Linked DNA regions of Homo sapiens: region 1 is linked to region 2. The links are contacts of gene promoters, found by promoter capture Hi-C in human tissues and cell types (Jung and others, 2019). All regions are on one chromosome and are shown on one strand. The core of a region is centred on a gene start or on the middle of the fragment in contact, and the rest is flanking DNA. Distances in the headings are between cores, read along the strand shown.

Region 1 (4,377 bases), core at 1,044-3,543, 130 kb before region 2:
TGCAGACAATGCTTTTGTAAAATTCAACGGAAATGAATTATTAGAAAAGTAAAATAAGATCTAAAACCAAGACAGACAAAAGTCAAACCTGGCCAGGAACGGTGGCTCACGCCTGTAATCCCAGCACTTTGGGAGGCCGAGGTGGGTGGATCACCTGAGGTCAGGAGTTCGAGACCAGCCTGGCCAACATAGTGAAACCTCGTCTCTAATAAAAATACAAAAATTAGCCAGGCGTGGTAGTGGGTGCCTGTAGTCCCAGCTACTTGGGAGGCTGAGGCAGGAGAATCGCTTGAACCCGGGAGGCGGAGGTTACAGTGAGCCATGATTACGCCACAAATAGAACTGATTCCTAGCCTGGGTGACAGAGCGAGACTCTGCCTAAAAAAAAGCCAAACTCACATTTTTATTTATTAGATTCAACAGACGAAAAAGAATTCTGTCAAATCACTCTAAATGCTCACTCTCTCCATTCCTGTACACATCTCACTGCAATCACCGTTTGTTGAGGGACTGGTGGTTTGCAGAGCATACTTTGAGACTAAAGTGATTAACTAGCTGGGTGTCATGACCTATTAGAGGCTTGAGAAATCAGTTTGATGGGTTGCAATAAGCATTTTTTAATGGAATGGAGTAGAATAGAATAGTTGCCTGCATCTTATGTATAAGTTTGGTTTTACAAAACTTGTTTTAGTTGTCTGGGCGCGGTGGCTTATGCCTGTAATCCCAGCACTTTGGGAGGCCAAGGCGGGCGGATCACCTGAGGTTGGTAGTTCGAGACCAGCCTGACCAACATGGAGAAACCCCATCTCTACTAAAAATACAAAACTGGCTGGGCATGGTGGTATGTGCCTGTAATCCCAGCTACTCGGGAGGCTGAGGCAGGAGAATCAGTTGAACCTGGGAGGCGGAGGTTGCAGTGAGCTGACAGTGTGCCATTGCACTCCAGCCTGGGCAACAAGAGCAAGACTCCGTTTAAAAAAAAAAAAGTGAACTATTTCTGAACGGATTGGTAAATAGCAACAGCTCCCAGCTCCTGCCATGCCAGCCTCTACTCCCAGGACCTCCCGCGATTCAGTAAGTGAAGACTTAACACCTGGCACATCAGGGGCCTCAGGGAGGCTTCTCGTGAACTTTTGGATCACGTGTCTGCAACCGTGTGTGCTGGGTGGGAGTGGAAAAGCATTCCCTAATGTAGTGAGCGAGTGTTGAGAAATATTGAACACTCCTGGGACTGGGGTGTCTGCCAGATAGCGGGTGTGTCTCAGAATGGGTGATTTATGTTAGGGATGTCCCTGCGGAGGGTGCCCTAATCACTCCCCATTCTGCCCCAGTTCCAGAGGCCCCAGGAGCAGTACCCGCCCCTGAAGTTTGGGACCGTGCCCAACGGCTCCACGGAGAAGAACATCCGCAGCAACTATCCCGACATGCACAGCTACATGGTGCGCTACAACCAGCCCCGCGTAGAGGAAGCGCTCACTCAGCTCAAGGCAGGGTCAGCGCAGACTCGGGCCGGGGGTGGGGGTTGGGCCGCTGGGGACCTGAGGATGCTCAAAGATGGCAAGGGGTCCAGGTTCATTCATTCAGTCCCAGAGGTCAGCCCTGGGTGGGTCAGCTTGGAGGGCGGAGGTCACTGAGGGTGGAAGTGGACTCCTCCTCCCAGGAGCAGGCTCCTTGGGATATTTTCTGGGATGCAGTATTTCTGGATTCTGGGGTGAGACTGATGGGGCTCAAATCTTTGCTCTTCCCCTTCTTGGCTTTGTGACCTTGGGCAAGTTACTCAGCCTCTCTGAACCTCTGTTTCCTCCTCTGTAAAATGAGGATAACAAGAGTATCCCCACTGTAATGATCATAAGGTTGTTACAAGAATTATACTAGTAAGCCGGGCACGGTGGCTCATGCCTGTAATCCCAGCACTTTCAGAGGCCAAGGCAGGCGGATCACAAGGTCAGGAGATCGAGACCATCCTGGCCAACATGGTGAAACCTGGTCTCTACAAAAAATACAAAAATTAGCTGGGCGTGGTGGCACGCGCCTGTAGTCCCAGATACTTGGGAGGCTGAGGCAGGAGAATCGCTTGAACCTGGGAGTCGGAGGTTGCAGTGAGCCGAGATCATGCCACTGCACTCCAGCCTGGCGACAGAGCGAGACTCCGTCTCAAAAAAAAAAAAAAGAATTAAACTAGTTAGTCCACTCAGAACATTTATTTATTTATTTAGAACAGTGCCCGGTGCACTATAGGTGTTTGCTGATATTATCATTATCATTAGACCTGAACTCACTGGAATCAATGCTTAGATTGTGTTTCTTATCTTTTTACATCCCTTTCCCAAATCATAGGGATGAAGTTAAATTCAGAGGCCAGGCGCAGTAGCTCACGCCTATAATCCCAGCACTTTGTGAGGCGGAGACGGGCAGATCACTTCAGGTCAGGAGTTGGAGACCACCTGGCCAACATAGTGAAACCCCATCTCTACTTAAAATACAAAAATTAGGCTGGGTGCGGCAACAGGCTCTTGGGAGGCCGAGACGGGCAGATCATTTGAGGTCAGGAGTTTGAGAACAGCCTGGCCAACATGATGAAACCTTGTCTCTACTTAAAATACAAAAATTAGCCGGGCGTGGTGGCGGGCGCCTGTAATCTCAGCTGCTTGGGAGGCTGAGGCAGGAGGATCGCTTGAATGCAGGAGGCGGAGGTTGCAGTGAGCCGAGACTGTGCCATTGCACTCCAGCCTGGGCAACAGAGACAGACTCCGTCTCAAAAAGAAAACAATACAAAAAAAGTTGAGTTCAGGCCCCAAAGTGCAGCCCACGAATACAACAAGGCTGAGCACAGTAACTCTCTCCCCGTCCTGCATTTACTCAGTCCTTCCGTGTGCATTTTTCTTATCCTCTGCTGTACGCTAAGCGGTGAACAAATAGACCCGATTCCTAGGTCTAGAGGTGGGAAATGAACAATAAACATGCAAACAGAAAAATCAAGATCTCTTCAGAAAGTGATGGTGAGCTAGAGGGCGGCAGGGCTGGGATATTTTCACCAGGGTGTTCAGGGTGGGCTTCTCGGAGGAGGTGACATTTGTGCAGAGCCCTGCAGGAGGTGAAAGAGCTAGCCAGGTGGACTTCCGGAAGCAGAGCCTTCAGACGGAGGGAACAGAGTGTGCAAAGGGCCTGAGGAAGGTGCAGTGTTGGTTTACTGGAGGAACAGCAAGAAGGCCAGTGTGGTTGAAGGGCAAGGAGCTGAGGTGAGAGAGTAGATGAGGGGAGGATTCTGGGCATGAGGCCAAGGTCAGGGCTGGACTTTATGCTAAAGGCGGTGAGAAGCCTTGAGGTGTGGAGATTTTACGTAAGGAAGGGTATGATCTGATTTCTGTTTTTGTTTGTTTTGAGACAGGATCTCACTCTGTTGCCCAGGCTGGAGTGCAGTAGTTCGATCTCAGCTCACTGCAACCTCCGCCTTCCCTGGGTTCAAGCAATTCTCCCACCTCAGCCTCCTGAGTAGCTGGGATTACAGGCGTGCACTACTATGCCTGGCTAATTTTTGTATTTTTGGTAGAGATGAGGTTTCACCATGTTGGTCAGGCTGGTCTTGAACTCCTGACATGAGGTGATCTGCCTGCCTCAGCCTCCCAAAGTGCTGGGATTAGAGGCGTGAGCCACCATGCCTGGCTTAAAAAAATTTCTAATGCCCAATGCAGTGGCTCACACCTGTAATCCTAAAGCTTTGTGAGGCCAAGGTGAGAGGATCACTTAAGACCAGGAGTTCAAGACCAGCCTGTGAAACATAGTGAGACCCCCTTGACTCACAAAAAAAAAAATTTTTTTTTTTTTTTTTTTTTTTGAGACAGAGTCTCGCTCTGTTGCCCAGGCTGGAGTGCAGTGGCACAATCTCGGCTCACTGCAAGCGCCGCCTCCCGGGTTCACGCCATTCTCCTGCCTCAGCCTCCCGAGTAGCTGGGACTACAGGCGCCCACCACCACGCCCAGCTAATTTTTTGTATTTTTAATAGAGACGGGGTTTCACCGTGTTAGCCAGGATGGTCTCGATCTCCTGACCTCGTGATCCACCCGCCTCAGCCTCCCAAAGTGCTGGGATTACAGGCGTGAGCCACCGCGCCTGGCTGGAAATTACTTTTAATAATATATTTTACCTAACTATGTCCAAAATATTATTTTGACACGTAATCAGTATAAACATGGGTGAGACCGTTTACATAATTTTTTTCCCCACACGCTGTCTTTGATATCTGTGGCATTTTACACTCACAGCACATCTAGGTTCAGAGTGACCACATTTCAAGTGATCCACAGCCCTAGTGGCGTGTCACTGCTGCACTGGACCGCCCAGGTCGACATCACCCAAATGCAAAAAGTTTCCTAGTCA
Region 2 (4,404 bases), core at 1,551-4,050:
TCCTTGCCACCTCTGTAGGAGTCTGGACCCCTCGCCTTCCAGAATCAGGCTTTTGCATCTCCTCAGCTCCCTCCTCATTCTCCACAGAGATTCAGTGGACTTCTCCTGGCACCACCATGACCTTCACTCATTCCATCACGTCTTCCTGTGACAATTCATTCATTCCATCAACAGGCACTTATTGAGCATTTACTATATTCCAGGCTCTTCCCTTGGGAAATAACCGCAGATTTGACATAGAACAAGCCCTTCTTTCATGGGGTTGACAGTCTAGTGGGGAGATAGATGGTAAACAAGACAAAGAAGCAAAACATTTAGGAGGTCAGATGGTGACGAGTGCTATGGGAAAAAGTAAAACAGGAAAGAGGAATGGAGAAGTTGGTGGACGAGCCTGGGGGAGGTGACACTGGGCAGAGTCAGACGATAGGAGCCCACGAAGCTCCCAGGTATCAGGAACATGCGGGAATAGCAAGGGCAAAGGCCCTGCAGTAGGAGCCTCCCCTGGGTCTTAGGCCGCCTAGTTTGGCCAGTTTCTTTCCATTGCCCACTCAGGCACAACCTCAGGCCCTACTGCTCCCCAACCTTCCTGTGCCCCGGGGATGCCTCCGCACCTGCCTGCGAGTTTCCCTCTCAGGATCCCTAAGGACCTGGGCATTCCCTTCCCCAGACTCTCCCTAACCCCCCACCCCAGCAGCACACAGAGCCAGGGACAAAGGGTCATTGAATAGAAAACAAAGGTGAAGACAGCCCAGCCGGAGGCCTGGTGGGGTGTCATGGTTCAGTCCCCCACCTCCGACATCAGAGGGGTTCACTCAGCCTCAGAGGGGGATGCCTGGCCCTCTCACCCTTCCACCCACCCTGCAAGAGAGCCTTTTTATCAGCAGGAACATCAAGGCTTAACACTGAAAGTATCAAGGCAGAATGTTGAGGATGTGGACTCGGTAGTGGCTGGGGGCAGGGGCGGGTGCTCCCACAGCTCAGCCTCCTGGAGACGGGTCTTGGGGTGGTGAATTGAGAGATGGGATACCCCAGAACCCTCCTTTTCTGCTTACCATCAGAGTGAAGGCGGGCAGTGCTGTGTGCCCTGGGGGAAGCCACATTACCTCTCTGGGCCCCCTTCCTGCATCTGTTAGGTGAGTCTGACGTCTTCCATCCCCCTCACCTATGCAACAATAATTGGTCAGTATATACAATTTTATTTGTTTTGGCTTTTTTTTTTTTTCTTTTTGAGATGGAGTTTCACTCTTGTTGCCCAGGCTGGAGTGCAACAGTACAATCTTGGCTCGCTGCAACCTCTGCCTCCAGGGTTCAAGTGATTCTCCTGCCTCAGCCTCCCGAATAGCTGGGATTACAGGCACCTGCCACCATGCCCAGCTAATTTTTTGTATTTTTAGTAGAGATGGGGTTTCACTATGTTGGCCAGGCTGGTCTTGAACTCCTGACCTCAGGCGATTCACCCGCCTCGGCCTCCCAAAGTGCTGGAATTACAGGCGTGAGCCATTGCACAGGCTTTCTTTTGGCATTTTTTTTTTTTTTTTGAGATGGAGTCTCTCTCTGTCGCCCAGGCTGCAGTGCAGTGATGTGATCTCAGCTCACTCCAACCTCCACCTCCCAGGTTCAAGCGATTCTCGTGTCTCAGCCTCCCAAGTAGCTGGGATTACAGGCACCTGCCACCACTGGTGGGGAGACTGGCTTCATGACTCCAGGACTCTGAGGGGTCAGGGACCAACAGCTGGGGAGGGCCAGGGTTTGGGGTGGGGGCAGAAGAGAAGAGAACACCGTCTATGCTGAGCTCACTGTGTACCAGATCCTCCACCAGCAGCTGAGAGTGTCTCCCTCAGTCCTCACAACAGCCCGATGGGTGCCATTCACAGATGGGGAAACTAAGGCAAGATGAGCCTATGAGCAAGATGGTTCCCGGCCCCACAGCTGGGAGGCACTGGAGCTGGGATTTGAACCAGGGCTGTGACCTTCAGACTCTCACGCCCAACCATATCTGGCAGTTGTCTCTCATATCTGTGTCTCTCCCTGTCCCTGACCTTTCTATGTATCTCTGTCTCTGCCCTCTGTATATCGCTGCTGGGTCTCTCAGGGTCTCTGACCCCTGTGTGTCTCTGTCTCCTCTGGGTGTCCGTGTGTCTCTGTCTCCGCCCTCCGTGTATCTCTGTTGCGTCTCTCAAGGTCTCTGGCCCCTGTGCATCTCAGTCCCCTCCTGGTCTCTGTCTCCCATGCCCTCTGCCCTCTCCCTTTCTCCCTGGCTCCCGCCCTGTCTGTGCTGCCGTGGTCCTGGCTGTGCCTCTGTCCCTGTGTCTGTTTCCAGGGTGCCCCTTACGCGTCAGCCCGTGAGGGCAAGTTTCTGTCTGCCCCTTCCCCAGCGGTGGCCTAGTGCTTGGAACAGCGCCTGGCAGACAGGAGATGCTCAGTAAATATTTCTCAAATGAATAAAGGAATGAATGAGTGAATGAATGAATGAATGAATGAACTCGCTGAGATGGGCGAGATCAGCGCCATTTCCCAAATGAGCAACGTGGGCTCCAGGTGGGTGCCCACAGGCCCAGAACTGCCAGCCCGGAAGGTTCTGGCGTGGGCTTGGCACTGACCCCCTGGACTCTGCCCCCAGCTGAGCACCAGACGCCAGGACGTGCCCATCACTGCTCCTCCCCGCCCTCAGAGCAGGGTGGCTCCCTCTGGCCTCTCCCCGCTGTTGGAGGCGTGGGTAGCAGCTGGGAGAACCGGCTGGGTGCTGCCCCTCCCCTTGGGCCGGGCACGGAGTAGGCACCTGGCGGGCTCCCCAGGTGGCAGACGCTGTCGCTGCGCACACCTGGCCTCTGTGCCGCCTGCTCCCTGCTCGTCCTCCCCTCCCCACCCTCACCCACCTGCCATGGACGGGCCCGCCGAGCCCCAGATCCCGGGCTTGTGGGACACCTATGAAGATGACATCTCGGAAATCAGGTGAGGCCCAGACCTGGGCAGGAGCCAGGAGATCCCAGGGAGGAGGTGGCTGTTTGGGGGAGCCGGGGACTGTGGCAAGGGTGGCCTCCAGCCACCCGCAGCCGCAGGCCTGGCCCAGACTTAGCTGGAGGGGCTGGGCTGGGCTGGGGCATCCAGTGTGGTGTATAGGTCCCTCCTGAGAAGGGAGTGAGGACCCGACCGTGTTGAGTCACCAGTGGGGATGCCTGGGGTGTCCCTGTCGCTCTCCGGGCCTCAGTTTTTCTGTCTGTCAAAGGGGCCCACAAGCCCTGTGTCTCCCTGATAGAGCAGTGGAAGAGAGCAGGCAGCTTGGTGCATAGTAGTTGCTCAGGAAACACAACAGCCTGTAGTACCCAGGACACCCCATGCAAGCCCTGAAATAACGGGGGTGCTTGGGGGTGAAATGGGAGAGACTGGGATGCTGCTGAGACCCCCAGAGGGAGAAGCTGTGTTCTAGGGCACTTGGGGCGGAGAGGGCAGGCTCTGGACTCTTCAGGTCTCCTAACAGTGGTTAGGGCAGAGCACTGCCCACTTCCATGAGCTCAGCGTGACTCCCTCTTCCTGGGGATGAGTCAGACACTTTGACAGTACCTGCTTTCCAGATGGGGAAACTGAGGCTGGGAGGGAACGCGACATGACCGCAATTACGCAGCTAGAAGCAAATCTGAACCCGGTCTGTCTCACGCCAGAGCCTGTGGTTTCTCCTGCTCCTCACAGCCTTGGTGATGTCCCCTTTACACCCCTCCCCGTGGCTCCATCTTTTAGGGGAGCGCAGAGGCCCAGAGAGGGCAGGCAGCCTGCCCCAGATCACACAGCAAACTGCTGAGACAATCTCCAACCCCTCGTATCTTGCACTCTTGCCAAGTGAGACCTTCCTGGCAGCCTGGGCCCCTCCAGCCACCGTGGGCTGTGAGGAGGGAGACAACCAAGACCTGTTCTCAGCCCAGTTGCCTCATTCCTTTCTTATTTTATTTTATTTTTTTGAAATGGAGTTTCGCTCTTGTTGCCCAGGCTGGAGTGCAATGGCACGATATCAGCTCACTGCAGCCTCCGCGTCCTGGGTTCAAGTGATTCTCCAGCCTCAGCTTCCCAAGTAACTGGGATTACAGGAGCCCGCCACCATGCCCGGCTAATTTTATTTTTGTATTTTTAGTAGAGAAAGGGTTTCACCATGTCGGCCAGGCTGTTCTTGAACTCCTTGCCTCAGGTGATCCACCTGCCTCGGCCTCCCAAAGTGCTGGGATTACAGGCGTGGGCCACCACGCCTGGCCGCCTCATTTCATTCCACTGTTTCAGGCCCTCCCCTCCCCTCCCTCAGCCAGAAGCTGGGGCATGAAGAGGCCTTCCTGGGTGCCTGGGACTCCAGAGACAGGAGCAGTTCAATCCTGATTGCTGTGTGACCTAGACAAGCTTCCTGATGTCTCTGGGCCTCCT

The links. The method cuts DNA at HindIII sites, captures the fragments that hold promoters and counts their contacts. A contact is called where the count stands out against the background at its distance.
Region 1: a fragment that was not itself captured here is called in contact with the fragment with the promoter of SULT2B1 in region 2 in 1 of the 25 tissues and cell types used here (dorsolateral prefrontal cortex).

The regions. Positions count from the first base shown.
Region 1 is chr19:48,420,454-48,424,830 of GRCh38, forward strand. It overlaps GRIN2D (glutamate ionotropic receptor NMDA type subunit 2D), which reads left to right. Exons shown (of 14, transcript NM_000836.4): 11 at 1,332-1,492. Among named protein-coding and RNA genes, the nearest start is that of GRWD1, 23 kb to the right of the region's middle. RefSeq lists an enhancer at 4,359-4,377. The HindIII fragment of the contact is 4,602 bases long and covers 1-4,377 here.
Region 2 is chr19:48,549,372-48,553,775 of GRCh38, forward strand. It overlaps SULT2B1 (sulfotransferase family 2B member 1), which reads left to right and starts at 2,801. Exons shown (of 7, transcript NM_177973.2): 1 at 2,801-2,952. The coding sequence starts at 2,882. RefSeq lists an enhancer at 2,221-2,745. The HindIII fragment of the contact is 26,692 bases long and covers 1-4,404 here.